Linked DNA regions of Homo sapiens: regions 2 and 3 are each linked to region 1. The links are contacts of gene promoters, found by promoter capture Hi-C in blood cells and fetal thymus (Javierre and others, 2016). All regions are on one chromosome and are shown on one strand. The core of a region is centred on a gene start or on the middle of the fragment in contact, and the rest is flanking DNA. Distances in the headings are between cores, read along the strand shown. Region 1 holds the start of ZNF527 (zinc finger protein 527). Region 2 overlaps LOC124904781 (a long non-coding RNA gene). Region 3 holds the start of ZIK1 (zinc finger protein interacting with K protein 1).

Evidence for each region. The method cuts DNA at HindIII sites, captures the fragments that hold promoters and counts their contacts. A CHiCAGO score of 5 or more calls a contact.
Region 2: a contact is called between a fragment that was not itself captured here and the fragment with the promoter of ZNF527 in region 1, in 1 of 17 cell types (monocytes). The highest score is 6.8, in monocytes.
Region 3: a contact is called between the fragment with the promoter of ZIK1 here and the fragment with the promoter of ZNF527 in region 1, in 6 of 17 cell types (monocytes, non-activated CD4 T cells, naive CD4 T cells and 3 more). The highest score is 22.9, in monocytes.

Annotation. Positions count from the first base shown.
Region 1 is chr19:37,369,696-37,372,708 of GRCh38, forward strand. It overlaps ZNF527 (zinc finger protein 527), which reads left to right and starts at 1,404. Exons shown (of 5, transcript NM_032453.2): 1 at 1,404-1,531. RefSeq lists enhancers at 774-913, 934-983, 1,154-1,463 and a silencer at 1,494-1,803. The HindIII fragment of the contact is 7,295 bases long and covers 1-3,013 here.
Region 2 is chr19:57,561,819-57,565,059 of GRCh38, forward strand. It overlaps LOC124904781 (a long non-coding RNA gene), which reads left to right. Exons shown (of 2, transcript XR_007067357.1): 2 at 2,046-2,291. Among named protein-coding and RNA genes, the nearest start is that of ZNF550, 3.6 kb to the left of the region's middle. The HindIII fragment of the contact is 5,328 bases long and covers 1-3,241 here.
Region 3 is chr19:57,582,712-57,585,819 of GRCh38, forward strand. It overlaps ZIK1 (zinc finger protein interacting with K protein 1), which reads left to right and starts at 1,434. Exons shown (of 4, transcript NM_001010879.4): 1 at 1,434-1,678; 2 at 2,241-2,279. The coding sequence starts at 1,646. RefSeq lists enhancers at 943-1,474, 1,171-1,270. The HindIII fragment of the contact is 4,281 bases long and covers 1-2,392 here.

The sequences.
Region 1 (3,013 bases), core at 154-2,653:
AGTTCTACACTCAAACTGTATCCCAATCTGACAATTTCTCATTGCCTCTTCCAGTGATGACCCTAATTCAAACCACCATCATCATAAGACCATTGGTCTCCAAAATAGTTTATACATAAATGAGCCTGTCATTGACATGTAGAGACCTGGGTCAACAGTACAGATGGAGGTCCCCAGCCAGTCCCCTTCTGTTCCCACTGCCATCCTTGTCCCACATCGTAAGAGGTCTTCTATTCCCACATGTGGACACTCCAGCTTGCATATCTAAGCTCTGTCTAGCCTTACCAAATTGCTCTCATTTGGCCACATTTTGTGGATAGGCAGCACATTCCACCTTTGGAAGACAGATCAAGGGAAGGGTCTTTGGACACAGAGGAGATACAGGCTCTGGAAGCAGGCTGGAGTCCATTTGAACAGGAAATCCTGGGGATTTGGATACCCAGAGCATGGTCTGAAAGAAGGTTGTGAGATCTTTGCAGGCATGTTTCTGCCTATGGACTTTCACCAGGAAGGAAACTGCTTGACTAGAGGAGGGCCAAAGTGTGGCCTTTTGTATGTTTAATAATATTAAAATGTTAAATATATTATTTTGACCAATTGAGAAATAATAATAATAATAAAATAGGCCGGGTGCGATGGCTCATGCCTGTAACCCCAGCACTTGGGGAGGCCGAGGCAGGTGGATCACAAGTTCAGGAGATGAAGACCATCCTGGCCAACATGGTGAAACCCCATCCCTACTAAAAATACAAAAATTAGCTGGGCGTGGTGGCAGGTGCCTGTAATCCCAGCTCCTCAGGAGGCTGAGGCAAGAGAATCGCTTGAACCCGGGAGGCGGAGGTTGCAGTGAGCGCCGAGATTGCCTCAATAAAAGATACCACAGACCCCGCCCATGGCAGGAGATGGGGGTGAAGGAACAGTAAGACCAGGAGACAGTCAGATACACATCGGATCAGTGGTATCCTCACAGTAACAGAAACGGTCACCCCCAATGTCAGCCACAGTCTCTTTCATCCACAATCACTTTCACATTCAGCTACCCACAATCACGGGACGTGATTTAAAATACAGAAGCTCCCTGCACTGACAAAATCCGCCGCTCCTTTCGTCGGCAAGCATAAAGGTGTGCAGCAACAGTCACACACGAACCACCACACCCAAGCATTCAACCAGTCAGCCCCGCGCGCAGCCTGGCCGCTTTCCCCAACACAGCAGCTCAAGGTCACTGGAGAGCCTACGACCGCACACAGCCCTCTCCGGTACCTGCCCCCGTGGCGCAGGCGCGCAGTGGAGGGGGCCGCGGGGTTCTCTGGGAGATGTAGTTCAACGATGACGGCCGTGGCGCAAAGCGTTCTGGGGCTCGTGGTTCGCGGGGTCCATGGGGAACGCGGTGTCGCTGGTTCAGATCTCGCAGAGCTCAGAGTCCTGCATGCCTCAGTCCTCGCCTCGCTCCTCCTCGCGGAGGATTCTGGGAGGTGACGTCGCGGGTCTCGGTCGCGGGGCCCGTTTGCAGAGCCCGCGGCGCCGGGAGGTGAGTGGGGCCGGGCCCCGGGCGGGAGCGGGAAGTCAAGGGCGGGCTCCGGGTGGCCCGGCCGCGCCAGGGATGGGAACCCGGCAGGAGTCGCTGGGGAGGCCGTGTGTGTTTCACTGTATTACCAACTATGTGACAGGCTGCGGGTGTGACAGAATGTGATCTTGTGTCACTGTGTGTGTGTGTTTGTGCGCGTGCGCCCGCTTGTGTGTGACTGTAACCATCTGTGTCTGGGGGTGAAACTGTGAATATGTGTGTTTGTGTGTGACTGTCTCTGCAGGTGTAGCTGTGTATGTGTTTATGAGAGACTGGGGTGTGACATTGTGTGTTTGTGTAAATGCATGTGTGTGGTTATGTGACCACCTGTTTCTGCGGATACAATTGCGTTTGAATGTGTGTGACAGCAAGTGTGATTGTGCGACTATGACCATCTGTCTCCGCAGGTATAGTTTTGTATCAGTAATTGTGACAAGATGTGTGACTTCTGTGGTATGCTACTTTGTGTGTGATTGTGTGTGATTGTTTATCTCTGTTGGTGTAGTTGTATGTTACCATCTATCTTTGTGCTTATGTGGCTGTGTATTGTGTGAGATTATGGGTGTGTTTGTGTGACTCTATACATTTGTGATTGGGTGAGAATTTGTGTGTATATATGAGATTGTGGGATTGATGTATGAAGCACAGAAATATTAGAATTACCCAAGTTCACACAGTTAACAAGTGACAGCACCAGAACTCAAACCCAAGCAGTTTAGCTCTAGAGGTCTCGCTTTTTTTTTTTTTTTTCTCTTGAGATGGAGTCTCACTCTATTGCCCAGGCTGGAGTGCAATGATGCGATCTCGGCTCACTGCAACCTCCGCCTCCCAGGTTCAAGTGATTCTCCTGCCTCAGCCTCCCAAGTAGCTGGGATTACAGGCGCGCACCACCACGCCCAGCTAGTTTTTGTATTTTTAGTAGAGACGAGGTTTCACCATGTTTGGCCAGGCTGGTCTCCAACTCCTGACCTCATGATCCGCCCACCAGAGCCTCCCACAGTGCTGGGATTACAGGCGTGAGGCGCTGCGCCCTGCTGCAGTTTTTATGGACAATTTCAAGCTGCACTACACTAAGGAAATAACTGCTAGGGACTGAGTTGCCTAGTGCAAAGTAGTCCAGAATTAGGGGGTGAAATTAGGGGGTGATGTATACTGAATTCTAGGTCAACCACAGTTGTCCCTTTCTTTTCTTTTCTTTTCTTTTCTTTTTTTTTTTTTTTTTTTTTTTGAGACAGAGTCTTGCTCTGTCCTGTAGGCTAGAGTGCAGTGGTGCAATCTCGGCTCACAGCACCCTCTACCTCCTGGGTTCAATCAAGCCTCCCACCTCAGCCTCCCAAGTAGCTGGGACTACAGACACATGCCACCACGCCCAACTAATTCTTGTACTTTTTGAGGAGATGGGGTTTTGCCATGTTGCCCAGGCTGGTCTTGAATTCCTAGTCTCAA
Region 2 (3,241 bases), core at 86-2,585, about 20 Mb after region 1:
GTATTTGCTGAAATATAACCTGAAGAAGATTAGACATCATTTTGGCAATCCCATGTAACAAAACATGTCAAATAATCCTGCTTGCCTCTTTTCTGGATGCCCCAGGGACCCTCTGTAGCATCCAAAACGTAGGTGTCAAGAAAGACAATTGATTTGTGGAAGCCTGTTAAATATGTTAACAGGCTTAAAATATTTGATGTTATGTACTAGAATTCCAGATTACTATAAGTTATTTATTTTGCCAAAATGATGACTCAAAAATTTGAAAAAGCAAAAACCTTTCATTAGCCTTTACTATTACATGAAAATTGTGTTCAAGAGAGAGAAAGCCAAATTTCACCCTTACATTAGTGTACTATTAATGTCAACCACAATTTTTAATGAAACAATTATAGGCAATTCTATCCAATCTTAACCAGTTTGACAATGAGGTGAGATTTTCACAAACCTTTTATAACCCTTTACAAATTTTGCTAAAGAGTAGATTCATGCATTAAGAGTTCTTTGTTGTGCTTTTATTTCAATGCTCAATTTACAGAAAACCACATAATACCCTTTTGAATGTAGTCAATATATTCACACAGAGTTTCCTTTGCAAGATTAATTCTTACAATTTTTTCCCCAGTTTGCTTAAACCTTCAGTTGTATTTTATCTACTTTAAGACAATTCTTTATCCCTAGGCAAAACGTACATTGCCATGCCTTCTTATAATTTTTTACAAAAAACACATTTTACTGTTTTTACACACATTGCATGTAAATCTATTCAGTAGTCTCAATTACATGTCATAATGGTAACTCTTAGCAATTTTTTTTTTAAGATGGAATCTTGCTCTGTCACCCAAGCTGGAGTGCAGTAGCACAGTCTTGGTTCACCGCAACCACCACCTCCCAGGTTCAAGCGATTCTCCTGCCTCAGCCTCCCAAGTAGCTGGGACTACAGGCACATGCCACCATGCCAGGCTGATTTTTTGTATTTTTAGTAGAGATGGGGTTTCACCGCATTAGCCAGGATGGTCTCAATCTCCTGACCTCGTGATCTGTCCGCCTCAGCTTCCCAAAGTGCTAGGATTACATGTGTGAGCTACCACGCCTGGCCCTACCTCTTAGCAATTTTTAACTTTAGTGTAAAACCTGGTAAGTTGTTTTAATTATTTGCTGGGTGCAGATAAAGTTTAACTCCTTCCAGAATAAGTTAGGGGCTTGGTTACTTCCATATGTTCCCAGACTTTACCCATTGTGAAGCAGGCAAGTTGAACAGTTCTTAAAGGCCAAAGGAGCAGTACAACCTTAAAACATTTAGCAAACCTACCATCTGACCTGCATAATTTAGACCACATATTTACATCTTGAGTACATTTGTATTTTACCAATAATCCCTAAGACTGTTTTATTTTTAAAGATTAAAGTCACATGAACTAAGAGAAATTACAGTTTTTACTATTCTTTCAAAAAAGATTTGATCGGCCAGGCGCAGTGGCTCACACCTGTAATCCCAACACTTTGGGAGGCTGAGGTGGGTGGATCATAAGGTCAGGATATTGAGACCATCTTGGCCAACATGGTGAAACCCCATCTCTACTAAAATACAAAAAATTAGCCAGGCATGGTGGCACGTGCCTGTAATCCCAGCTACTTGGGAGGCTGAGGCAGAGCAATTGCTTAAACCTGGGAGGCGGAGGTTGCAGTGAGCCAAGATCGCACTACTGCACTCCAGCCTGGTGACAGAGCAAGACTCAGTCTGGGAAAAAAAGAATTTTATTTGATCTAAGTGCTTATAGGCCAATCAATTACAGCTCTTTTTTATAGACATCACACAACACATATATGACTACACAGACAGAAGAAGATCCAGCAGCTCAGGGTGGAGCCCTTTAAGAATAAGGCTACAAAAGCATGCAGTTTCTGGGGCCTAATAAACAGGCATAGCTCGAAGGCCAAAACAGATTTTGAGAGGGATTTATCCATCTCTAATTCTTGGGGTTCCATGAGGAAAACAGATTTCCCCCAAATTGAATCTGTGGCACCTTGTCTGTTTTCTCAAGGAGTCCAAGGCCACCAGAAGTCATCCTTGAGCCTTTCATGCATGCACCAAGATTGGCAAGACAGAGTGGAGAAAAGTAATTCAGTTGACTGAGATACAAACCTTTTCCAGAAAAACAAGATCTAAGAAGAGAAAAACATAAAGGCGTTTCAAGGACACCTATAACTTGGGTATCCACTTTTAATTAAGCTGAGTGCTCTTTCATAAAATTCTTCTTTACTAATTAAAACTTTACAGATAATATAAACAATGATCCTTATCTTTTTTTTTTTTTTACTGGTTTGCATCACTCTTTGTTCACAATCATGTTCAGGTTCTCCAGTTTACTTTTGGGGAAAGTGGCTGGATTCAGGCAAGGACAGGTTTTTAACTGGACTGTAGATCCCTCTAACAGCAAGCCCTGATATTTGAAGAGGCAATTGTCTGTTAGCCAGAGACTTCCCTTAGAGGATAGCAGTCCTGCTATATTATGTGGGGTCTAAACAGTTATTTTCCGGCTGGGTGCGGTGGCTCATGCCTGTAATCCCAGCACTTTGGGAGGCTGAGGTGGGTGGATCAAAAGGTCAAGAGATCAAGACTATCCTGGTCAACATAGTGAAACCCCATCTCTACTAAAAATACAAAAGTTAGCAGGGCATGGTGGTGCACACCTGTAGTGCCGGCTACTCAGGAGGCTGAGGCAGAAGAATTGCTTGAACCCAGGAGGCAGAGGTTGCAATGAGCCGAGATCACGCCATTGCACTCCAGCCTGGTGACAGAACGAGACTCTGTCTCAAACAAACAAAAAACAAACAAACAGTTATTTCCCATTATTAACTTGGTGGCCTCTGGCACGAGCAAAGCCACCAATGCAACTTCTTGGAGGAAGGCTGGCCATCCTTTAACCACCAAGTCAAGTTCCTTGCTTAGGTAACCCACTGGCTGTTGAGCTGGACCTCGAGCCTTTGTTAAAATTCCCTGGGCCGTTTCCTTTCTTTCTGATACATAGAGATTAAATGTGTTCCCTATGAGAAGACTGAGGGCTGGTGTTTTAAGTAATGCTTGTTTTAACTGGTTAAGGCTTTTGAGTTTTAAGATTCCAAGTATTAGTTGCTTGAGTTTCTTTTATGAGGTGGTATAAAGGGTGAGGTATTTCACCATATCCAGGTACCCACAGTCTGCAAAATTCAGTAATTCCTAAGAATCCCCTTAACTGTT
Region 3 (3,108 bases), core at 184-2,683, about 20 Mb after region 1:
TGCCCAGGCTGGAGTGCAGTGGCATAATCATAACTCACTGTAACCGTGATCTCCTGGGCTCAAGCGATACTCCCACCTCAGCATCCTGAGTAGCTAGGATTACAGGTGCACCACCATACTCGGGTAATTTTTTAGTTTTTGTAGAGACGGGGTCTGGCTATGTTGCCCAAGTGGTCCTTCCACCTCAGCCTCCCAATGTGCTTGGATTACAGGTGTGAGCCACCGCGCTGGGCCTGACATTTTCTTTTCTGCACATTCTCTAGCTGTGTAACTTGCAACTCTTTAGCTCTGTGCCTGCAAAATAACTGGACATTATGTTACCAACAGAGGATGGCCAGATGAGACTGGTCCAGTGGTTAAACCTGCACCTTCATGGAGGCCATTATGAGTATCCCTACAGGCCGAGTCTCAGGGTGCCCCCAGAAGCCCATACCAGCCGCTGTAAGGCAGAGCATGGACTTCCCCTCGGGGACTAAATCCCATTCTTGGGCTCCAGAGGCCTTGTTCCTACCACTGTACGCCACCGCTTGGGGTGCCCTGGGAACCCGCCTACCTCCCTACTGCCCTGAGGGCGGTTGGAGATGGTCCCAGCAGGTGTGGGAGATGAGGTAGGAGACGTCTTCAACGGGGTCCAAGGCTCATCTGGACCCAGTTCTCAGCCGAGGGGCGGTGGAGAGGGCGTCAGAAAACGCAGGAACGGCTCCTAGACCCAGGAGGGGACTCAGGGAAGCAGAGGCGCTTTCCTCGGCGGCTCTGGGGCCTTCCCAGCTCGCCCGGCCCCCCTGGAGGAGACGTCCCCCGGGGTGGAGCTACGGAGAACCCCTTCCCATGGGACGTCTCGGCCCCGCCTCCCGCCTCTGGGTACAGTCAAAGGGCTCAGGTCAGAGCAGGAGCAGCCGGGGGCGCGGCCCCCACGTGGCCTCCCGGGACACGTGCCCACAGCGCGACACCTAAGTCGCTCCTTTCACAGAATAGCCTTGGCCCCGGCACGGCCTCGAACGCCTTGACCCCGCAAGGGAGGGGCACGAGGCTCCTTTGCTCCCGCAGGAGCGTCGAATACGTATGGAATACGCGTCGGTGTGGATCTGGCCTCAGCTTCCTGAGCCTGAATCAATGCTTCTAATCACGTGGGCGCTCAGCCGCGACGGGACCACAGAAATCGACCAGCGGCCTGTTTAAGGAGCGACAAGGCCCAGCCCTCTCCTGCATTGTGGCGACGCCATTTCCCTGCGCCCCCAGCGCGGCCGCTTGGCTTTTGTTTGAGGTGACGCTGGGCGGCAGCATCCTTCCCTCAGCCCTGGGGACCAGCGGGGACTACAGAACCCAGAAGGTTTTGTCTCCAGCCGCAGGGATGCTGAGCCAATCCGCGCTGAGAAAAGGGTCGTTTCCGCTTTGGGACCAATGGGTCGGGGAGGGACTTCCGGTATCACTTCAGTGGCGGTCATTTTTGCAGCGCTTGGGTGCATCCAGACCGTCAGAGCTTTGGGAGCGCTTTGTTTGGCGACAGTCGGAAGGCGCGAGGGGAGGGGTCCTCCCGCTGAACAGTGGGGGTTCTAAGGGTCGGCGGCGGCGGGGTTGACGGCTTTGCCTAGGTCCCTCCGCCCGTAGCTGTCGGGTCCCGGCCCCGCTCTGCCCACAGACTCCGATGGCTGCGGCCGCGCTGAGGGCCCCGACTCAGGTGAGCGCTGCCTCTACTGGGCCTCACCCTCCATCCCCAAATTAGTGCCTTCTTGGGTCACTACGGTCGAGATCCTCATGTCCAGTACAGTGGGGGCTCGTGGGTGGGGTCCCTATTTCCAGAACTTGGGTGATGGGGCACGGAAGAGGGTTACAGGCAAAGGGACCAGCGTTTCTAAACTCTTGGAGACACAGTGAAGAAGGTTCATACCTGGAGTGCCAAGGTGAGGAGTTTTCCCTCAATTCTTAGGATGCTAGGAGCCGTGGAGGGTTGTGTACAGAAGCGGCATATGGTCTGAGTTAGGTCTTTCGAAGTTTTCCAAAAACCTCATGGAGTTAGACTAGAATAGAATGGAATAACACAGAGGCACAGGGAGGTTGAGTTCTTGTGCAAGGTCCCACAGTTGCTAAGAGTTGGCACTGAGGACTGGAACGCTGAGGCTCAGAAATAATGCAGGCATCCTCAGTCCACCTGGCTCTGGCCTGGACAGGAATCCAGGGAAGCCTGAATCCGTAGAGCCCTGTATGGTCACCTGCCTTTCATGATCTTTGGCTTTCCACAGGTTACTGTGTCTCCAGAAACACATATGGACCTCACAAAGGTGAGTGGAGGGTGTCCCAGGCCCTCACTGGTCCTGGCCCCATCCTGGGGTTTTTTCATGGATCTTTTTGCCACCATCCAGTTCTTTGACCTAAGGACTCTTCACAAACTGGAAGCTTGACATCCTGATTCTAGACTGGTGGTTATTTGTAGACGTTCTTATTGCTGGCAGACAATGGAATGAGGTGTGAAAGGTTGCCCCGCCTACGTACAATAATGTGTAAGGTTGGCAGTGAAGCTGAGCTGATTCAGGGAAACACAACTCTCCTTTCTTTCTCATGGGAACTCAGAGCAGCAGGGCAGGACTCAGGCCTGGAATGGCTCTGAGAAATTGGGTGTTTTTTCTGGAGGTGATGAGAACAATGGGAGGTTTAGAGAAGAGAACGGAGGTTATCTGACACTGGTCTCATCAGGTTCACTGTTAATGCAGCATAGAGAATACTCTGTGGGTGTGATGGAGGCGATAGAAAGACCAGGGAGGAGGCTACTGCAGTGGCCAAGGTGAGTTTTGATAGTGGCTTCACCAGTGTGGTGGCTGTGAAGGTAGAAGAAGTGGCTGGATTCTGGGTCAGAATTTTAATTAGGCCTGCTTGCATTTTCAGATTTTGAGGGTAAGAGATACTGGTCAAGCATTACTCCAGGCATTTTGAATTTAGCATCTGGAAGGATGGAATCTCCATCAAATAGCATGTTATAGGATTGATTTTATTTTTATTTTATTTATTTATTTGTCTATTTTTAGACAGTCTCACTCTGTCACTCAGGCTGGAGTGCAGTGGCTCGATCTTGGCTCTTTGCAACCTCCACCTCCCGGGTTCAAGCAATCCTCC